Linked DNA regions of Homo sapiens: all the other regions are linked to region 1. The links are contacts of gene promoters, found by promoter capture Hi-C in blood cells and fetal thymus (Javierre and others, 2016). All regions are on one chromosome and are shown on one strand. Each heading gives the region's core, a stretch centred on a gene start or on the middle of the fragment in contact. The rest is flanking DNA. Distances are from core to core; before and after follow the strand shown.

Region 1 (3,972 bases), core at 194-2,693:
CCCACCACGGGGCTCCTCTGCCCAGACGTCCCAGGTCCAGAGTGGAGGCTCAGCCTTGGGCCTCAGTCCGCTCCCGGCCCGGATGTGAGGGTGGGTCGCAGCTGCACGGCCTCGCTGCCCACCAGGCCTGCGGAAGGGAGGACACGCCCTCCCACAGACCCTGTGATGGCGGCTGCCATGGAAGGTGTCTAGGCCCTTTTGGGCATCCCCTGCCCCCGTCTAGGTCCCCAGGTACTTGCAGAAAAGAAGGGGTGAGCACAGCCTTCTGTAAGGGGGCGCCCGAGTCCTGGCCAAGGTGGCCGCCCACCCTGGGGCTCCACAGTCCAGGCAGCCACCTCTTCAGTCTCTCCCCTTAATGTGGGGCAGAGTGGATAGAGGGACTCCCTCCTCTGACCAGCCAGGCAGGCAGGGAAACCCGGGCACGGGAGCCCAGGGCTGGTGGCCATGCCCTGAGGGAACTGGCTGCACTTGCAGCCCAGGCCACAGGCCCCAGGACACCCCAGACCTCTTGGCAGGACCCCAGGGTTAAAAGGCAGTTTGTGGCGCCACTTCTCCCCTGATGATGGACACCTTGAAGGGGCTCTGGGCACCAGCGGAACAAACGTCATAGGGAAACTCAGCAGCTGACCTACCACCAGGACCCACCTGTCCTCTGCCCTCCCAGAATCCTGGTCATGCGTCCAGCAAGCTCCCAGGGAGGACACGCCAGGCACTGGGCCCATGGACACGCTGTAGAGAAACGCCGCAATCGTTAGGGGCATGTGACTAAGACGCCTCCTTCCCATAGGCACCCACGGGGTGCGGCTCTTTCCAAAACGCCACATTAAAACAGCTGCAGGAGGACCGAAGGGGCCTCGTGCCCATCCCCTGCTGCTACTCCCCAGCCCGCCCTCAGCCTCCTGCCGCTGGAGCTCTGCCCACCTGCACACCCCACTCTTCTTCATCCCCAGCCCCATAAGCGAGACTACCTTGAGGCCAGTAGGTGCTTCCTGAGAGTTTAGGAATAACAGGGGAACTACAGCAAATAGCAACAATTTTAAAAGCAAACAAGGCATCAGCCCTTGCCATCCTCAAGCCGTGACCACCCCTGCCCAGGACGGAGCTCCAGCGGCTGCACACTTCCCCCAGGGCTCGCCCTGCAGCTACCTCTCAGCTCCTGGGAGGAAACTCCACATTTCAGCTGCTTTATACCCAGAGAAGCCTCCTGCCTCCCTTCCCAGTCCTGGCAGATCCTGGGCCTCTCCTGCCTGCCTGGCCTCTTGGAAATAACTGGCTGAGCCTCTCTGTGTGTCTGGCACAGCATGGGGCCCAGAGGCCAGAGCCACCGGAGGTACCCTGCAGAGAGGGTAGGGTTGCAAAATCCTCCCCCCCACCCCCACAACTGCAGAACACACCCTGGGCCCAGCTGGGCTCTAGAGGTGCCCAGGAGAGGGAACTGAATTATTTCAGGAATTGGAGATGCCCCTGTGGCTGAGGAGGAGCTGGGGCTGGGGCCGGGGCCAGGGCCGGGGCTCTGACCTGCCACTCTGCCCCACATTAAGGGCAGAGACCGAAGAGGTGGCTGCCTGGACCTTGGAGCCCCAGGGTGGGCGGCCACCTTGGCCAGGACTCGGGCGCCCCCTTACAGAAGGCTGTGCTCACCCCTTCTTTTCTGCAAGTACCTGGGGACCTAGACGGGGGCAGGGGGCCTGGGGGTCTGGGCCTGGGGGCCAGACCCTCCATCATTTCCTAGGCTGGTGCTCAGAAATGGAGGAATCTCAGGACAGGTCCCTGTGGTCTACGGGGTGGCAGGCCTGAGGCTGGCCCTCTCTGCAGAGGACACCTTGGGGGCTGCTGATCAGCCTTGAGGCCAGAGATGGCTCTCACCTGCTTCCCCGTCACAGGACCAGCACTGTCAGCCTCACCTGGAGGCTTTCTGCAGGGCTGGTTCTCTTGTCCCATCAGTGTCTGTGTGGGGTCACCCTGTTCCCCTAGGAGGGTGGGTCTGCAGGGGGGAAGCCAGAGTGGCCCTTGGAGACCTCAGGACCCCAGAGGGAATGAGCAGGGAGCCTTGAGGGTCTGGAGGAGGAATTCAGAGAGGCAGGAAGCCGGGGAGCCCTGAGGAGAGGCGAGAGGGAGTGAGCGAGCGGGGGAGGGAGTGAGGGGGGAGGGAGCCCTGAGGAAGGGGAGGGGAGTGAGCGGGGAGGGAGTGAGGAGGGAGGGAGCCCTGAGGAGAGGGGAGGAGAGTGAGTGGGAGTGAGGGGGGGAGCCCTGAGGAGAGGGGAGGAGGAGTGGGGGGGTGGGGAGCCCTGAGGAAGGGGAGGGGAGTGAGCAGGGAGGGAGTGAGGCGGGGAGCCCTGAGGAAGGGGAGAGGGAGTGAGTGGGGAGGGAGTGAGGGGAGGGAGCCCTGAGGAAGGGGAGTGGGGGGAGGGGAAGGGTGAGGCAGGAAGCCAGGGAGCCCTGAGGAGAGGGGAGAGGAGTGAGGGGGAGGGGAAGGTGTGAGGGGAGTGGGGGTTGAGAGGAGAGGGAAGGAAGGGAAGGGGGAGGGGAGGGCGATGGGGGAGCCCCCACAGACACCCCAGCTGCTGGCTGGGCGCTGGGCACCCCCCAACCGTTGGGCCTTGCTCCCACTAGGGGCAGTCGTGTCCCAGCCCCACAGTCAGGTCTGAGTCAGGGACCCGTGGCGCCCGCCCTCCCTCAGCTGAGCTCACCAACAGCTGAGAAATATTCATTTAAAAAAGCCCCCATTAAAGAGCTAACTCATTGCTGACACTGCAACTTTTTATTTTATTTTATTTTATTTATTTATTTATTTTGGAGACGGAGTCTCGCTCTGTCGCCCAGGCTGGAGTGCAGTGGCGTGATCTCGGCTCACTGCAAGCTCCGCCTCCCGGGTTCACGCCATTCTCCTGCCTCAGCCTCCCGAGTAGCTGGGACTACAGGCGCCCGCCACCACGCCTGGCTAATTTTTTGTATTTTTAGTAGAGATGGGGTTTCACCGTGTTAGCCAGGATGGTCTCAGTCTCTTGACCTCGTGATCCACCTGCCTTGGCCTCCCAAGGTGCTGGGATTACAGGCGTGAGCCACCGCACCTGGCCTTATTTTATTTTATTTGAGACAGAGTCTCACTCTGTTGCCCAGGCTGGAGTGCAGTGGCACGATCTCAGCTCACTGCAACCTCCGTCTCCTGGGCTCAAGGAATTCTCCTACCTCAGCCTCCCAAGTAGCTGGGACTAAAGGCGTCCCCCACCATGTCCAGCTAATTTTTGTGTTTTTAGTAGAGATAGGGTTTCACCATATTGGCCAGTCTGGTCTTGAACTCCTGACCTCAGGTAATCTGCCCACCTCGGCCTCCCAAAGTGCTGGGATTACAGGTGTGAGCCACCACACCCGGCCTGCAACTTATTTTTATATTAAAAAATTTGAGTCCTTAGAGGACGGAGGCCTACAGAGCCATGGGCCAGGCAGAGCAGAGGCAAGAAGGCAGAGGTGAGGGTGGCACCGTCCCCTGCCGGGGCCTGCAGTGTCATCTGGGGCTGGATCTCCAGGCCCCGTCCTCCTGCGACCACCTCGCTGCCCATGTGAACCTGTGGTCAGCCCCGGGGACCTCGGGGAGGCAGGAGGAAGTGTGCACCCTGCCCTGCCTGCTGGCTGGGAGCCCACGGGGTGGGCAAGGGGTGGGCAATGCCTTGTGACGTCTCCCATGTGGCTTCCTTCATTTTTTCTGAAGTGCCCTGGTCCTTTTCCTTCTTTTTAAACATTTTATTGTGGATGTGTCCCACCCCACTTAAGGAAGAGTCTAGTACCTCATGCCGGCCGCCCCGTCCTGGCCCCCCGCCCATTCCGGCCCCCCCATTCCGGCACCCCATTCCAGCCCCCCCATTCCGGTCCCCCCATTCCGGCCCCCGCATTCCAGGCCCCCCATTCTGGCCCCTCCATTCTGGCCCCCCCATTCCAATCCCCCATCTGCCCCCCCCATTCCGGCCCCCCCAT
Region 2 (3,972 bases), core at 559-3,058, 470 kb after region 1:
ACAGACCCAGACCGTGAAGGCGGCAGGTGACAAAGCCAGCTGCTTGCCAGTTGCCCCTGCGTCTTCTCTGGAAGACTGGCTAGCTCACTCCTGTCGTGCTCAGCCAAAAGGGCTGAGGAAGAGTTTGGCTCTGGCAGGTGCTGGGTGGAAGGGAAGACGCGTACGCTGACTGGCTAGAGCCCCTCATCACGGAGGCGGTTCACTGCCTTTGGGGTTTGAGCTTCTAATGATAGAATGTTCACATGATGTTCTGTTTTTCCCATTCTATTCACATCGCCAAGCCCACCTCGCTCGCAGACACCACAAGATACCAACAGAGCTTCTGAAACAGATACCCATAGCATTGGAGAGAAAAACAGCTCACAGGTAAGCTGGAAGGAGAATGTGCAGTTGTAAAAGTATTTGTGATCTGTTTGTACAGGAAACGGTTTTAAATGTAATTGAGCACCTCAGAGAAAAGTCGGGCTTTAAGGGTGTTTCCTGCTTTAAAAAAAACAAAAAAGCGAAACAAAAAAACCAAGAAACTGTGGGTGGGAACATCCACAAGCACATGGGCTGGACACTCAGCTGAGCGGGGGAGGCGCCGAGTGGGACAGGCAGCGGGGGCCTCCTGTCCCTCCCTGCCTGCCATCAGGGATACACCGGAAAGGAGGAAGGGCTCCCTGGTGGCTGCAGCCTAGAGAGGAGGGAGGGACCATTGGAAGGGGTGGCAGTGAGCCAGCTACTGGCTGGTCTTTCCTCGTGGTTGCTGGTTGGACAGTGAGTGGGTTTTAATATTTGCATGCTGTGTGGGACTCAGGAGTTACCCACGGGGCCATCTAAGGCCATGTGGCCACTGTGGCTGTGACTCTGAGGTGTCTTCCTCATTAGACACTCACTACCTGCCGGAAATTACACCCTGTGCCTTTCCTAGCATTAGTCCTGAGCTAACTGGTGCCGGAGCAGTGTAGCATTAGCGGCTGATCAGCCTGATAATTTAGTGTAAGATCACTTTTTCTTCTTTTTTAAAAAAGTTTTTTTTGTAGAGACGGGGTCTCCCTGTGTTGCCCAGGGTGGTCTTGAACTCCAGGGCTCAAGTGATCCTCCCAAAATACTGGGACTATAGGTGTGAGATACTGTGTCCAGCCTAAGATGACTTTTCTGTTAACAGCTATTGAATGGGCTTTACAGAGCGGCCTTCAGCATTGTTGTGAAAGCGGAGTGAGTCTTAGAGGAAAAAGTGTACCTGGGGTTATTGCCTTGGTGTACTATCGTTCTCCCTTCCTACTCCGGCACAGATAGGGTTCGAGGCAGTGATCAGTACTGTCTTGCTCAGTTATATCTGGCAGTGCCTTACCTTGCTGCAGATGAGATGCGCGATGTGTTTTCTTGGGTGTTCGTTGCTGGTGAGAACTTTGACGACGGACTGTGTTCTGTATTTTGGAAGCTCTGTGAGGAAGCATGGCCTTCCAGGCAGGGTTAGTAGCTGACCCTTCCGTGCTAGCGCTTCCCTCAAGGCTTTCTTCACCAAGGAAACAAGGAGTCCCTGTTACCCAGGCTTTCTCAGGGACATCCCCTGGCCCCACTCCGAGGGGCAGCATGATTTCGGGAGCCCCAGGAGCCCTGGCTGTGGGTGTGTGGGTGCATCCAGGGCGTGCGGCCTGCTCCTGGGCACTTGGGGCTGTACCCAGCTTGGGTGTACCCAGATGTTTGGTGGGTTTGGGGAGCTATATTCTTGAGTATTTTCAATTTTATTTCTTTTTTTTTGAGACAGGGTCTTGCCGTTTTCACTGTTTTACACAAAACTTCCCCTAGTTTTAAAAGGAATTAGATGTTCAGGTACAGAATTTTGAAAATGCAAAAAAGTAGAGAAAAACACTTAGACTCTCAGATTTAAAATCCTCTTTAATGTTTCGTGCTGTTATATAATTCTGAGGATTTGGCCGCAGCTGTGGTTATGTGGACATTTCTGCCTTTTCCCTCCTGCTTATCCCGGAAGCATCTTGTAAACCTGCTCACTATACAGTGTCCCTTCCTTCGTCATGTCCCTGTTTTGAGCCGTTTTCGGCTGTTTTCATTTTCTTTTCTTATAACCAGTGCTGCCGTCACCATCTTTGCCCTCATGTCACGTGACTTCCCTAGGACAGTGTTTGCCGCTGTCAGTACCCCCAGAATCTCACAGTGAACCAAATGTATTTACGCCCTGAGTGGGGCTCCCCCAGAGGTGATCTGTCCCTGGAGGCGGCGAGCGTGCTGTGAGCCGGGAGTGCGGCGCGGCCCGGGGAAGGCCCCCAGCCCCAGGACTCCCCTTGGACCACGGTCCGAGGCACTGACATGTGCCTCTGGGCTCTTGAATTGAGCCTGCGGATCTGAAGCTCGGGTGGGAGCTGGGTGCTTTCCCGTGTCACGTGTGGTACACTGATCTGCCTTTAACATTGACTTTATCTTAGTCTGAGGAAGATGATATTGAAAGAAGGAAAGAAGTTGAAAGCATCTTGAAGAAAAACTCAGATTGGATATGGGATTGGTCAAGTCGGCCGGAAAATATTCCCCCCAAGTGAGTGTGTTCTCAGTGTCACGGGGGCACCCCTTGACAGAGGACACATCAGCTGACACGTTTCTTCCCGCCTCAGGGAGTTCCTCTTTAAACACCCGAAGCGCACGGCCACCCTCAGCATGAGGAACACGAGCGTCATGAAGAAAGGGGGCATATTCTCTGCAGAATTTCTGAAAGTTTTCCTTCCATCTCTGCTGCTCTCTCATTTGCTGGCCATCGGATTGGGGTAGGTGATGTGACTGTGTGACTCCTGTCATGGCATGTCGTGGGGCGATTCTGGGTTGCAGTGATTTATTCGTAACCTGTTTCCTGAAGTCCAGATCATCAGTTACAGCTTGGTGCATTTTCACAAACACCCACGTAGTCACTGTTCAGGTCCAGAAACCACCAGCCTGCAGCCCCCAAAGGCCCCAGCACAGGCGCCCTGTGGTGCTGCTGTCTGGCCTGACGAGTCTGCCTGTTGCTCACTGAATATAAACGGAGTCAAAGCAGGGCTTCTTAGGTCTGACCTCTTTGTCCTGTGTGTAGGTGAAAGCAGTCTCATTTCTGTGTAGTACTGTGGCGGGAATGCACCCAGCTCTGCTGTAGGTGGAGGGTCTCAGTTACCTGCTGTACTTCCTCCAGACAGGACTGTTGTTCTAGTAACTCTCAGCAATGAAGGAACCAATGCAGTCTCCGACTTTACTGGCTTGAGTTTCGCTCTTGTTGCCCAGGCTGAGTGCAGGGGCGTGATCTCGGCTCACTGCAGCCTCTGCCTCCTGGGTTCAAGCGACTCTCCTGCCTCAGCCTCCTGGGTAGCTGGGATTACAGGTGCCCACCACCAGGCCTGGCTAATTTTTGTATTTTTAATAGAGACGGGGCTTCGCCACGTTGCCCAGGCTGATCTCGAACTCAAGGGATGGCTCACCTCGGCCTCCAAAGTGCTGGGATTACAGGCGTGAGCCACCGCGCCTGGCCTTTCCTGGCTGCTTATACTCACTCACCCTGCAGAAAACACAGAGACCAGGCAGGCGCCGCTGTGGGTTCTGAAGAGCGTTCGCCGCAGCGGTGGTGAAGAGCCAGAGCGGGAAGCCAAAACGGCTCCTCCTCGGGCTGGTCCCAGCCTCTCAGCGGGGAGGAGGGCTCTAGTCCTGGCGTGCAGACAGTGTTCTGTGGCTGCCGTGTGTTGGACAGACTGGAAAGACCGGAATGCCACTGGGGGCAGGTGGGTTAGGTAGGTTGGCCAGAGGGCTCACATCTGGGGTTGAAGGAAACGGGATAAAAGCCACTGAGTTTCCTGGGCCGGGACCTGAGCGCTGCCCGTGTCTCCACCTCGCCCTCCCGTGTGCGTGGCTTTCTCCTAGCTCTTGGGCACATTCTCACGTCCCCCCCATAACCCGTCACCTTCATTTCTGCTGGTGCTTTTGGGAGTCAGACCTACAGACTGCATCAGCATC
Region 3 (3,972 bases), core at 777-3,276, 260 kb after region 1:
AGCACCAGCTACAGCGCCACGTCCTGAGCCTCCAGCCCGGGAGACGCACCTGGCACCCACCGAAGGCCACACTCTCAGGAAGATGAGTCCATGCTCCTCACAAAGCCCCTACAGAAGTGACCTTGGATCTTTCTCACCATGTCTGGGCCAGCAGCCCGGTTTCTACCCAACTTCCCTCATTGCTTAGAAAGTGGGCCTCTGCTAAGTTCAAAGTTTTTATTACCTTTCCATTTTTTCATGTTTTTGAAGAAGTTATGAAGGATCTGCTTTTCACAAGGGCGGGCCCCGGATCAGTCCCTGGGGCATGGCAGCATCGGGTGGGAGGCCACGTGGGCTGAGGGGCGGGAGCGAGGGCACGCTGGGACAGAGGCAGAGGGGCGGGAGTGAGGGCACGCTGGGACAGAGGCAGAGGGCCCGGCCGTAGAGACACCACGGTTTTCTAATCTAGGAGAGGTCTGAAGAGCTTTTTGGTTTTTGATTTAACCTAACTTCTAAGTAAGAAGATATTACCTCAAACAGAATGAAAAATAAATGTAGTCAAATGACACATACATGTTTACTTCTTCCCGTATTAAGCGTTACAGTTGAAATCTCTGCTGCAGTTAACATAGTACCTTGTTCTTTGTGCCTTTAATCGGGTTCGTTTCTAAATAGGTTGTCCCGGAACCATCGATCTCTAGAAGGTACAGGAGGAAGGGGACCTGCCAGTCCAGCCCTCATATTTTACAGAGGGAAAAGGTGAAGCCCCATGTAAAACAGGGATTTCCCTCGGTGACACTTCCAGGCTGAGAAGGGCCGGGGATCTGGACACCTACCCAGAAACACTCCCACCCTGTCAATGCCTCTCTGAATTATGTGATCAACTGCCTGGAGTATGAACTAGGCACATGCAAATAGAGAACAGAGGTCTTGTTGAAAATATGATGCTGAATTTTAAAAACTCACTCCCCAAATTAAAGGAACAAGACCAGAGCATTTGGTTTCCTGTGGTCACTTGATCCCTCTCCAGAGCCAGCTGCTGCTCTCCATTGTCAGCACACTCCACTCACTGCCCTATTTCCAGAACAGGAGACTTTCTGCCCCATCCATGGCCGCAACATACCACTCACACACACACACTACATGTGCACGTACACACAATGCACAATACACATACCTGCACATGTGCAAACAGCACATACACACTGCACATGCATGTACACACAATACACTACACACACATGCCCACACAATACGCACAAATGCACTGTACATGTGTACACACAATGCAAAATACACATACAGGCACATGCAATGCACAACACATACACATACATGCACATGCCCAAAGACACCACTCACACACAGCACACACATGCACACGATATATACACACATGCATACACAACACACCACTCACAGCACATGCATACGCGCACACACACACACGCACACACACGCACACACGCGCGCGCACGCACGCACACACGCACACACACGCACACACACGCGCACACACACACGCACGCACACACACGCGCGCGCACACACACGCACACACGCACACGCACACGCACACACGCACGCACACACGCACACACACGCACACACACACGCGCACGCACACACACACGCGCACGCACACACACACGCACACACACGCATGCACGCACGCACACACACACACACACACACAGTTCTGCTTCCAGGTTTGCAGTCTTCCCAAATCCCTCCCGCCCTACCCCATCTGTTCCGTCTCTTCTAGGGAACGTGATCTTCTCCCTCCCACCCACCCTCCCCTTTCTGGGCACTGTCCCTCACAGTCAGCTGAGGACCTCATCCAAACTGGAGCCATGTCAGGCACAGGACAGGTGGGAGGCAGCCATCCATGGGTCTGGCCTTGGTCTCTGTGGCTCCATGGGGCTCCTCAATGCCCCCAAGCAAGCTCTGGCACCCCAGGGTCCTCACTCAAGAGTGTCTCTGTGGACAGGCCTGAGGCTGCTAGCTGCAGAAGTGCCTGCTTGCAACGGTGGCCATTGGCTGGCGTCTGGGAACTTGGCTTCGAAGCATTCCTTTAGTGAGGAGGTTCCTGCCTAGACTGTGCAAACAATGTGATTCATGGCAAACACCAGCCTTCCTTTTGAGGGCCTGGCATGTTAGTGGGTGGGGGGCGCACAACTGAGTAGCCCCCAAATCAAAACCATGAATTTTGGGTCTTAGCTGGAATTTCCCGAGCAGAAACACTGCATATATGGGGCTGTGTTTTGCTGCTGGAGGGAGTGTGTGCCCCGTGTGCACCTCACAGGGGGAAGAGCATGGGAGGGGAGAGAGCACAGGAAGTCTGCTCACAGGCCTCTCCAGGCTGTGCCTGTGAACTCTTCCCTTGCAGATCCAGCCATGCCTCCCGATTATAGGGCTGCGATAATGGTGTGGCTGTGCCATGGTGTGGCTGTTGTGGTGTGACCCTGCCGTGGCGTGACCCTGCTGTGGTGCGACCCTGCCGTGGTGTGGCCCTGCTGTGGTGTGACTGTGTGCTGAGTCCTGTGAATCCTAGCGAGTCCCCAGAGATGCAGGTGGTCTCGGGGACCCCCAGAACATCTGCTTTCACTGTTGCCTGGAAGTGTGGGGGGTGGGGGGAACATGGGGCTGCGAATTGCCTTCAGGGAGCGCATTCTTTTACGTACTTGGCCATTCACGTGGCAAATGTTTATGTGAGTGTATCAGTGCCACAGTAAGGGTTCCGCGGGAGAAACCCAGATAATCCTCATCCCAAGAGCTCCCAGTTCTCAGGGAGGGGGCAGGAAAGTGCTGCTCAGGTGGCTGAGCTTCGAGTGACAGGAGAGAGGTAGGATGTGGGGAGCTCAGGCATAGTGCAGGTGGAGCCCCAACCAGCTCAGAGCCCGGGGAGCCCAAAAGTCCCGTCAACAAATACAGCCCCGTGACCGTGCATGATGCTGGGGGAGGATGAGCACTGAGGGCCCCTGCCCTTCACGCTGGAGGGGAAAGCCTGGGTAATTTTATCTTGGGCTGCAACGAGGATAGCTGATGAAGTGTAGGAACAAGTTGACAACCACAATCATGAACTTGGCTCATTGGACAGTGCCAAGGGCGGCAGCAGGGACAGGAGATGGCAGCATGCCTGGGGCACCACCCAGGGCTGACACAGGGTGTTTCCACAGGTCGGGGCCCCCAGCCCCACGGGCACGAAGGCACCAGAACCTCGCTAAAAGCTGCAGGGCAGAACCCTCATCAATACCACCATGGGTACCACGTGCAGACGTAGTCGTACATATGGATCAGGAAACAGCATTCTGATTGATGTCAAAACAGAGCCGGAGGAACAGGCCCCTGCCGTCTGTGTGTGCTGGAAATTTCCACTGGGATCTCAACTGTTTGGAAACATAACTCAGTTGGCAAGGAAGACAAGAACCTTCCTGGGGTCCGGAACTCTGCCTGCTTCAGAATCAACAGATGATGAATGCCACTGGAAGGCTCGGGACCTACAGCCTCAGTTTCCAAAAATGTGCATGAGACAAGCAACCCCAGGGTTCTCACACAGGGTGAGCCGCTTGGGAGGGGGTGAGACCCTGCAGTCTGGATCCTTGCTCTTCCCCAACACCGCCCCACAAATACACAGATTCCCAGCTGATAGGACATGGAGTGAGGGCCAAGCACAGGACCTTTCCCCATATGCTCTTTTGTCTGAGAAACTTTAGCCAAACATTTTCAAACCAAACAGAAACAAATGGCAGCCACTAACTCTGCTCACAGTCAAGGTATTTTTTTCTTGAAGCTCTGATTTGGGGAAAATATGAAACAGACCTTACCCAGACACAGGCTGTGCCTCCTCCTCCCTCTTCCTCCTCTACCCCCTTCATGGGGTCTCTCTCAACTCTACAGAGGGGACCAGTGCTGTTATCAACTCCCTGTCTGCCCAGGGCCGCCTCTGAGGTCATCCTCTCCCCAGCCACCACGGCGGAGCCCCATGTGGCT

Evidence for each region. Contacts are between HindIII fragments. The CHiCAGO score rates a contact against its expected background, and 5 or more counts as called.
Region 2: a fragment that was not itself captured here is called in contact with the fragment with the promoter of LINC03068 in region 1 in 2 of 17 cell types (non-activated CD4 T cells and activated CD4 T cells); the score reaches 7.3 in non-activated CD4 T cells.
Region 3: a contact is called between a fragment that was not itself captured here and the fragment with the promoter of LINC03068 in region 1, in 6 of 17 cell types (naive CD4 T cells, activated CD4 T cells, non-activated CD4 T cells and 3 more). The highest score is 11.0, in naive CD4 T cells.

Annotation. Positions count from the first base shown.
Region 1 is chr10:132,442,453-132,446,424 of GRCh38, reverse strand. LINC03068 (long intergenic non-protein coding RNA 3068) reads left to right here and starts at 1,443. Exons shown (of 3, transcript NR_184030.1): 1 at 1,443-1,653. It overlaps LINC02870 (long intergenic non-protein coding RNA 2870), which reads right to left and starts at 1,236. Exons shown (of 3, transcript NR_149317.1): 1 at 1,147-1,236; 2 at 646-729. RefSeq lists silencers at 2,497-2,546, 2,647-2,696. The HindIII fragment of the contact is 13,459 bases long and covers 1-3,972 here.
Region 2 is chr10:131,969,428-131,973,399 of GRCh38, reverse strand. BNIP3 (BCL2 interacting protein 3) reads left to right here. Exons shown (of 6, transcript NM_004052.4): 3 at 282-366; 4 at 2,430-2,536; 5 at 2,613-2,762. It also overlaps a transcript of PPP2R2D not described here. Among named protein-coding and RNA genes, the nearest start is that of BNIP3, 11 kb to the left of the region's middle. RefSeq lists an enhancer at 263-1,133. The HindIII fragment of the contact is 5,510 bases long and covers 1-3,972 here.
Region 3 is chr10:132,178,227-132,182,198 of GRCh38, reverse strand. All of the region lies in intron 23 of JAKMIP3 (Janus kinase and microtubule interacting protein 3), which reads right to left. It overlaps JAKMIP3-AS1 (JAKMIP3 antisense RNA 1), which reads left to right. Exons shown (of 4, transcript NR_184044.1): 3 at 655-738; 4 at 3,159-3,972. Among named protein-coding and RNA genes, the nearest start is that of JAKMIP3-AS1, 6.5 kb to the left of the region's middle. The HindIII fragment of the contact is 8,704 bases long and covers 1-3,972 here.